2 separate regions of the Homo sapiens genome follow, and region 2 is linked to region 1. Evidence: promoter capture Hi-C in human tissues and cell types (Jung and others, 2019). All regions are on one chromosome and are shown on one strand. The core of a region is centred on a gene start or on the middle of the fragment in contact, and the rest is flanking DNA. Distances in the headings are between cores, read along the strand shown.

Region 1 (4,786 bases), core at 1,235-3,734:
ATAAAATAATCAGGGACAGTGGGTGAGAAGAGGGACAAACTCATTTCATTAACTTAGAATCATGGGTCATGCAAGTAATGCAGGAAACTTGGAAGCATGCTCATCTGATGTTATTTGGAGCAATCTCTCAAGTACTAGCAACTACCTCCTTTGGTATCTCATACCCAAGACCTCAAATTATTCCATAGTCTTTATTGACCTCTTCCCCCAAATAAGCTCAGTTACATGGCATAATGTTTAATTTAGTGCAAGTATTTTATAAGGATCTAGCTCTGTGGAAAACATAAAAGAAGTCCCTGCCATGAGAGCATAGACAATCTTGCTGAAAAGACAAGATGTAAACATGGAAAAAAAAAACAGAGTATAGGACAAAAATGCCAAAAATTATTTTGCTCAATTAGTATCTAGGTATCTATTATGTCACAGACTATCTAGAAATATTATTTATTGTTTATCCACAACTGCATGTCCATCAAAGCAACCAAGGCTTTTAAATAAGTGGAATTTGAAGTGAACCTGGAAAATCAGGCAGAATTCTAGGAGAAAGAAAATAGCTGAGTATTCTAGGCATGAAACAGCACATAAGTCAAGCGAGAATATGCCACTAAATTCTTTCTTCAGAGCAGCGACCATGCATTCTATGATTTTCTAAGCCCAGCATCAAGTGAAGTCTTCTGCATGAATGCCTGTGGCAACATGTGTGGCTTGTTGTTTCAGAGGAAAATCAACAGGCTAGCCTGGCTAGAACAGAGAGCTGGGCTGAAGTGAAATAGGATATGTAGTGTGACAGGTGTAGCGGAGCCCGATTATGAAGCATTTCAACGTGATGTAACAGGAAACAGTGCCTTAGTTTTTGATGAAAGTGGTATTAAGTCTTGAAATCCTAAAGGAGATGACTTAGTAAGCAAACAGAAATCTCATTTGCACTGCTGCAGTAAATAGATGAGAAATGTCTATAGAAGAGAAATAAAATTTATTTATCAGTAAAAATCACATTTCTGCTTTATATTAGCTATAAAATAAACAACAATTTTGCACTGACTCCAAAGTTACAAAATGGTGTTAACGAAAATTATTTCTACAGAGATAAGAAAAAGGTGTACGTGCTGAGAAATGGATATTTGAAAACATCAGAAGAATGATTATCAGGTGAGAGGTCAGAGCTGATTAAATAGCTCAGACCAGAAGAGCCTAATCGCAATCACTGGTACTAGTAAATACCATGAACAAGTTATTTAATCTCTCTAAGTTTCACTTTCCTCACATGTAAAATAAAAACTCAATAACAGCTGATCTGGCCATTTTCTATTCTCTAACATCCCATGTTCCTTCAAATATCAAATGTTACATACACTTGTCTGATCTTTCAACTTTATTTAGATCATTCTCCTATTACCCAGACTAGATATATGTCTCAGGGTAATGGTGCTCAAATACTTGGGAAGCTTTAAAAAAAAAAAAACAAAAACAAACCTATGCCCAGCCTCCACTCAGAGTAATACAACTGGTTTGAGGTAGGGCCACTTCTTTAACTATCTTGATTCTTCCCCTCTCCATCACCATACCCAATGTTGCAAGTTGTGTTAGTATTTCCCTCGCTATATCTTTTGTATTCATCTCTTATCCTACTAAGTGACATATTTTAGCTCAGGTGTCTAATATATCCGCCAACTTCCAGTGTGCACACTTTCCATTTTCTGTCACATACCACCACCAGACTATCAAAAACTTGAATTTTGGCCAGGTGAGTTGGCTCACGCCTGTAATCCCAGCACTTTGGGAGGCCTTGGCAGGAGGTCTGCTTGAGCCCAGGAGCTCCAGACCAGCCTGGGCAACGTGGAGAAACCCCATCTCTACTAAAAATACAAAAAATTAGCCAGGCATGGTGGTATACGCCTGGAGCCTCAGCTACTTAGGACTGGGAAGTCAAGGCTGCAGAGAACAAGATAGTGACACAGCACTACAGCCTGGGAGACAGATCAGAACCTTGTCTCAAAAAACAAAACAAAACAAAAACTCTCCAATTTCATTTCTCATCTCCCCTGTCAAACATCTTCAGTTATTTTTCCACCATTCTAGATGGGAAGTTTTTAATCCTGGCTATCCACCCACCCCCAGCAACCTTAAACAAACAAACAAACAAAAACCAACAAAATCAAAGCCTGAGTCCCGTACAAAGATTCTAAATTTAACTACACTAGGTTAGGTGCCAGGCCTTGTTATCTCCCCCCAACCCCTGCTCCAAGTGTTTCTGACTTCCAGCCAGGATTAAGAACTACTATTCCAGGTGTCTCTATTCTACCTTCCATCCTTACTCTCTACTGTGTTCCAGTTCTACCAGAAGTCCATTACCTCGCCTAATCCTTAAACACAACTCTTGGGAGATTCCTGAATTCTAGCCACCTTTGCTTATATGGGTCTTCCCACAAAAAAATACTATGTTGTGATCTTCAAGGTGACAAAAAAGCCTTTCTTGACCATTCCAGCAGACTCATTCATTAATTCCTACTAATGAATGGGGCAGTAACATCCACTGCCTGCACCAAGCAATTTGCAGCAAGTGATACCAAGCAATTTCTGTACTTTGTTTACTTCATGTTTTTATGTATCTTGTTCCTCCAATTCTATTTCAAATTTCTGAGAGGTAAACTCAAATTTCTTTATCACAGCCTCCTTTCGCACCTAATCCAGTGCTGCCATATACAACCAAAGGAAAAAGGTAGTTAATCCTTAATAAGCAAAAGGACGCCACAATTCAAGTGTAAACAGTTATGCCACAATTCAAGTGTAAACAGTTATACCACCTTTAATTATATAGTTTTAATTATCCAATCAAGAAATAATCTCTTCTTTAAAAAATACAGACTGTGTATATTGGTTTTATCTTAATGCTTTAGGTGTATTAATGAACCCAAAGAACTCAACATGGAGAAAACAAGTTATCTTGAAACACTTGAACTGGATTAACCCATTCCAGGTTGTCGTATCACATTAAGAACTGTCAAGTCCAAGATTCAGTAACACAAAAAAAGAGATTTCTGGAACTGAAACTCTGGAGTACTGCAGGGCCATTCTTAGGCACTAATGAGGTCTATTAGGAGCTATTAAAGCTCAAACGAACCCACCAACAGTCATGAATAATTTACTGGCCGAATTAACATCTTCACAGCTTCTATAGTTAACTAAATGTTTTTCAATTAAATTAACACTTACTGAAGAACTTAAAGGTATTGGTCAGGCAGTTTAATATAAATAGCTATCCACTCATGCCCGGATTAACATTAATTGGTGCTACTAACCACCTCTTTTGCCTTAACCCTAGGAACACAAGTGCATCTCCTCCATCCCCCTAAAAGCTTGAAACTTAAGTTGCATGAAACACTGGGTATTGGGCTGGGGTGGTGGCTCTCGCTTGTAATCCCCAGCACTGTGGCAGGCCAAGGTGGGAGGATTGTCTGAGACCAGCCTGGGCAACATGGTGAGATGCTGTCTCTACAAAAAATTTTAGAAATAAAAAATAAATTCACTGGGTGTGGTGGCATGCACCTGTAGTCCCAGCTACTCGGGAAGCTGAGGCAGGAGGATCACTTGAATCCAGGAGTTTGAGGCTGCAGTGAGCTATGACTGTGCCACTGCACTCTTGCCTGGGCGACAGAGTAAGACGCTGACTCAAAACAATCGCCCCCACAAACCCACCATAGGGTACCAATAAAAACACTAGGGAACAATTTAAATGTGTATCTGAGAATCATACTGTGTGCTAAGTAATCAACTCCTTTTCCCTTTGCTCAGCATGGAAATAGTATTATTACTTAATCACTGCAATCTCCACCTCCCGGGTTCAAGCGATTCTCCTGCCTCAGCCTCCCCAGTAGCTGGGACTACAGGCGTGTACCACCAGGCCTGGCTGGCTAATTTTTGTATTTTTAGCACAGATGGGGTTTCACCATGTTGGTCAGGCTGGTCTCGAACTCCTGACCTCAAGTGACCCACCTGCCTCAGCCCCCCAAAGTGCTGGGATTACAGGCGTGAGCCACTGCACCTGGCCACCACCTGTTTTATTTCATGTCTTCCTCGGCTGTTTTACCTCAAAGGCCTAGCATAAGCCATGACATAGTCGGCACTAAATGAAGAGGTTAAACTAACACATTTATGTGGTAAGTAATCCATCTAAAATGTATCACACTACCTAGTTTATTATTTTGAAAGTATGTGCAGCACTCACTTCGGGAAAAGTTAATGAAAGGCTAAGCCAGTCTACAAAAGTCTGCTCACCTAACCCACTTCCTTTAGGCAGTATCTTCTTTTAGGCAGGAAAAAACAAAGACCCAAATAGGTAGCATAGGACTGAAAAGTTTCTCTATTGCCTGACATTTCATTGAGCACCACATTTTATAACTGAAGTGCTTAATAGGTCTTAATTCATTTTTACTTTAGGATCTAAGGTAAACGATAAACTCTAGATAATTAACCAACCTAAGTCATCTGTTGAGTAAAAATAAAAAATCAAACTGACACAACTATCTTTTTGTATCTGTGTAGTAACAACTGTGCTGGATTAATTATCTAAACAGCTACTGAGATATTTAAAATTATCTATCACTTAACTGCTTATATATACACCCAGAAACCTAATAGTTTTAAGCAGGACAAATGGCAGTGTGGGAAGATGCTGAAGAAACATTCTAGACACATCAGAAAACACCACAGACCAGCAGTTTCCAACAGAAATACAGTGTAATTATAATTCTAGTAACCATATTACAGTCAAAAGAAACAGAAGGAA
Region 2 (4,786 bases), core at 624-3,123, 770 kb before region 1:
TCATTTTAACAAAAGAAATAGATATTTAAAATTTAATACTAACTATGGGAAAAGGGTCCATTGTGTAAAACATAGTTTATCTTTGGATTCAATGTTTGTCTTTGGTTTTACAAAGTAGCTTGTATTTTCAGTATTTTCTACATAATATGGTAAAATGTAGAGCAATTGCAATGCATCAATAAAATGGGTAAATTTTCTGACTTATGTGGCTGTTTTTGACTTCTGTTATAGGATATAAAGGGGATCAATAAATGACATCTTTGAAAGTGGCTAAGCATATTGTATTTGAACATCAGTAGAGTACTAGAGACAATTTCATTCTTCACACAAATCTCCATACTGGAAATGAATAGGGTTTGGCAGGGAATACTTCCCAAGAATGCAGTGTCCAGGGTCCTTACTTCACATCATCTGGATCTGACCCTTTGAAAGAGGTAGAAGACTTCTGAGACCGGCTAATTAAGCTTTGTTTCCTCATATGTTTTGCCAGATAGCAGTAGCAGAATGAAAAGATGAGTAACCACAGGAAGCTGCTATTTTTCCCCTCCTTTCAAACTGTACTGTTAGAGTCATGGTCCTTTTTACAGAAGGAACCTCTCATCAGATTCTGTTGATTCTAAAGTGAATAGAATTTCTCCCGATAAAGAAATAGGGGTTTGTTTCGATTAATGACTGCAGGTCTCTGAGTAAATGCTCTATTTGATTTTTTTTTTCGGCCCGTGTGTCTACCTTATGGCCCAAGTCTACCTTATGGTGGCCATTAATTCATTTTGGGCTCCTGCAGCCTTAGTTGGGATATAGAAATGAGAAACACTCAGAAATACCCTTTTGGACCACAACCAAGAGAAATAACCAATAGTCTTTTCTCCCAGTGGTAAGGAAGTCAGAATACATTGATCTAGACTGCAACAACATATATATATATATCAGATTCCGCCCCCCCGCAATACATGAATGTATAGTAAATTAGTGTGAACTCACTGAACACTCCTCAGTTTTGGTGAGAGACTATATCTGGCCTCTTTCAAGCAAAGGAAAGCCATGTAAAACAGCGCTGCTGTCAGCCTTAACTTCCAGACGATCGAGTTAATTTACTAACTTCTCAGTGACCTGTTTTTTTTTTTTTTTTAATCTCAGTTATATTTTCTTCCTTGGGCTAAATCAGATATTTGCATAGCCCCCAAAGTAGTAATTGGATAGTCTTGGGGGAAATATGCATTTCAGTGGTGAAAACCCCTGTAAATTCAATATATTTGGCTTTTGTGGAAAATTTTCCTCATGGGGTGAAGTCTAAGCCTTAGTTTCTGTATTATCATGAGAGATGACACCAGCTGCTTAGCACAAGGTGGCGCCAATGAGCTTTAGAATAAGTTGGGCTTGACCACTTGGGCCATTGTTTTCCTGCTTCCTCCCTTCAAGCCTCACCTCCCCAGCTCCCAGCTTCTACTGAACAAGGCTGAAAACCCACTCTATTGCAGGGAAAGGGAAAGATTAATGAAAAATGTCAGTTTCTTAAGTCAGCACTGGTGAAACTTTCCTAAAACAGGAATGGCGTTTGCTGAGTTTTCTCTGGGGTCTCTGCTTTCTGCAGCTAGCTTCCCTGCTTGACTGCCTAGAAGGCCTCTGCTTTCGGGTTTCCATCTCTTTCCCCTCCAGAGGACCCTACAGCCTAGGCGGGAGGTGGTTAAGGCTTCTGGCTGCTGTGCAATGGGGCCATCTGTGTTTGATCAATCCTGGCGGAAAGGAGGGGGTGGGGGTTGTAAAGAGAACTGAAAGCATTCCAGAGTAGTGAGAGAGACCCAGAGATCAGGAGAGAAGGCACCGCCCCCACCCCGCCTCCAAAGCTAACCCTCGGGCTTGAGGGGAAGAGGCTGACTGTACGTTCCTTCTACTCTGGCACCACTCTCCAGGCTGCCATGGGGCCCAGCACCCCTCTCCTCATCTTGTTCCTTTTGTCATGGTCGGGACCCCTCCAAGGACAGCAGCACCACCTTGTGGAGTACATGGAACGCCGACTAGCTGCTTTAGAGGTGAGGGACCCCTTTCTCTTCTAGCCCCGCCTAGAAGGATTCCAGGGCTATTGGTTCAACCAGTTTGTTAGGGATCTGGGGATAACAAGAAAGGGCTCTGTTAGAGTCTACAGAAAATTCTCTCTTAATAAGAGGACCTTCGGAATGACAAGCCCTCCTCTTACCCCACATAGAACAATTCCAAAGCAAATCGACTTTTGCGTTTTACCTCTGGGATTAGATAGAATAAGGGGGCAGAGTGGAAACGAGAGCCAAAATTGTGGGGCTGCATCTCCAGAGAAGGTGATGATTCTGTTGAAGTTGGAGGTTCCCGGGGAATCTATAACTTCCTGTCTTTTTAACAGGTTGAGATCCGTAGCATTTTAGTGTCCGAGAGGATAATTGCTAAGGGAGCAGAGACCTCTTCACACCTTCATGCGCTTAGACCTGCCTAGAGGCTCAGATGGCTCAGTGGCACTGCTCACAGAGAACACAGGCTGGAGGACATGGAGTCGGGGTAGGGGCCTAGGTGAATCTCAGCTAGGCTCTTTGCACATTTAGCACCTCTGCACATCTGGTTTCCTTTTCTGCAGGAGTGGAAGGGGATATTGAAGCCTGGCTGAGTTTGCTCTTTTTTTCCCATTCCTGACTCCCGAGTTGGGCCTCTCCCTGCCTGGGAGTTGTAACCCTGCAGCCTCCCTCCTGATCCCCCATCCCTTCAGGAACGGCTGGCCCAGTGCCAGGACCAGAGTAGTCGGCATGCTGCTGAGCTGCGGGACTTCAAGAACAAGATGCTGCCACTGCTGGAGGTGGCAGAGAAGGAGCGGGAGGCACTCAGAACTGAGGCCGACACCATCTCCGGGAGAGTGGATCGTCTGGAGCGGGAGGTAGACTATCTGGAGACCCAGAACCCAGCTCTGCCCTGTGTAGAGTTTGATGAGAAGGTGACTGGAGGCCCTGGGACCAAAGGCAAGGGAAGAAGGAATGAGAAGTACGATATGGTGACAGGTAAATAATCTGAAAGCAGGCCCCTAACTCTTCTCAGAACCGATATTCTTCCTTCCTTGCTTCTTACTCTTTTTTTCGCTTTGTCCCAGTCCATTGTGGCTCTGTCTTCTGGAATCTGTTTTAGGGAAACCTCTGTAATGCCAGGTCTATTAAGGAGAGGTTCTGGGGATCCAGGCCGCTGTGGTACCCGCTCTTTCTCAATTCTCCCTAAGATTGGAGGCAACCACTGGGCAAATGCTCACTATTCTCCAGATCACCCACCCTGGGGGAGTTCCTGCTGGAGGCATCTAATTCTTGCCTCTATTTCCTTTTCCTGTGCTTTTCTCATCAGACTGTGGCTACACAATCTCTCAAGTGAGATCAATGAAGATTCTGAAGCGATTTGGTGGCCCAGCTGGTCTATGGACCAAGGATCCACTGGGGCAAACAGAGAAGATCTACGTGTTAGATGGGACACAGAATGACACAGCCTTTGTCTTCCCAAGGCTGCGTGACTTCACCCTTGCCATGGCTGCCCGGAAAGCTTCCCGAGTCCGGGTGCCCTTCCCCTGGGTAGGCACAGGGCAGCTGGTATATGGTGGCTTTCTTTATTTTGCTCGGAGGCCTCCTGGAAGACCTGGTGGAGGTGGTGAGATGGAGAACACTTTGCAGCTAATCAAATTCCACCTGGCAAACCGAACAGTGGTGGACAGCTCAGTATTCCCAGCAGAGGGGCTGATCCCCCCCTACGGCTTGACAGCAGACACCTACATCGACCTGGCAGCTGATGAGGAAGGTCTTTGGGCTGTCTATGCCACCCGGGAGGATGACAGGCACTTGTGTCTGGCCAAGTTAGATCCACAGACACTGGACACAGAGCAGCAGTGGGACACACCATGTCCCAGAGAGAATGCTGAGGCTGCCTTTGTCATCTGTGGGACCCTCTATGTCGTCTATAACACCCGTCCTGCCAGTCGGGCCCGCATCCAGTGCTCCTTTGATGCCAGCGGCACCCTGACCCCTGAACGGGCAGCACTCCCTTATTTTCCCCGCAGATATGGTGCCCATGCCAGCCTCCGCTATAACCCCCGAGAACGCCAGCTCTATGCCTGGGATGATGGCTACCAGATTGTCTATAAGCTGGAGATGAGGAAGAAAGAGGAGGAGGTTTGAGGAGCTAGCCTTGTTTTTTGCATCTTTCTCACTCCCATACATTTATATTATATCCCCACTAAATTTCTTGTTCCTCATTCTTCAAATGTGGGCCAGTTGTGGCTCAAATCCTCTATATTTTTAGCCAATGGCAATCAAATTCTTTCAGCTCCTTTGTTTCATACGGAACTCCAGATCCTGAGTAATCCTTTTAGAGCCCGAAGAGTCAAAACCCTCAATGTTCCCTCCTGCTCTCCTGCCCCATGTCAACAAATTTCAGGCTAAGGATGCCCCAGACCCAGGGCTCTAACCTTGTATGCGGGCAGGCCCAGGGAGCAGGCAGCAGTGTTCTTCCCCTCAGAGTGACTTGGGGAGGGAGAAATAGGAGGAGACGTCCAGCTCTGTCCTCTCTTCCTCACTCCTCCCTTCAGTGTCCTGAGGAACAGGACTTTCTCCACATTGTTTTGTATTGCAACATTTTGCATTAAAAGGAAAATCCACTGCTCCTCTCCTGTGTTTGTTTGGGGTAGCCCTCAGATCAAACTTCCCCCTGACCATCCAGTTTCTCCCTCCCAACCCATCCCCACTCCTTGAGCCATATTAAAGACTTGGGCGGGGCTCCCTTTGCTGAGGAAGAG

What was found. The method cuts DNA at HindIII sites, captures the fragments that hold promoters and counts their contacts. A contact is called where the count stands out against the background at its distance.
Region 2: a contact is called between the fragment with the promoter of OLFML3 here and a fragment that was not itself captured in region 1, in 1 of the 25 tissues and cell types used here (IMR-90 fibroblasts).

What each region holds. Positions count from the first base shown.
Region 1 is chr1:114,750,245-114,755,030 of GRCh38, forward strand. The region is part of intron 1 of CSDE1 (cold shock domain containing E1); the gene reads right to left. Among named protein-coding and RNA genes, the nearest start is that of CSDE1, 5.3 kb to the right of the region's middle. The HindIII fragment of the contact is 5,566 bases long and covers 1-4,786 here.
Region 2 is chr1:113,977,601-113,982,386 of GRCh38, forward strand. It overlaps OLFML3 (olfactomedin like 3), which reads left to right and starts at 1,874. Exons shown (of 3, transcript NM_020190.5): 1 at 1,874-2,030; 2 at 2,732-3,017; 3 at 3,349-4,653. The coding sequence starts at 1,917. The coding sequence ends at 4,169. It overlaps HIPK1 (homeodomain interacting protein kinase 1), which reads left to right. Exons shown (of 16, transcript NM_198268.3): 16 at 1-269. RefSeq lists enhancers at 1,118-1,951, 3,619-4,451. The HindIII fragment of the contact is 5,723 bases long and covers 1-4,786 here.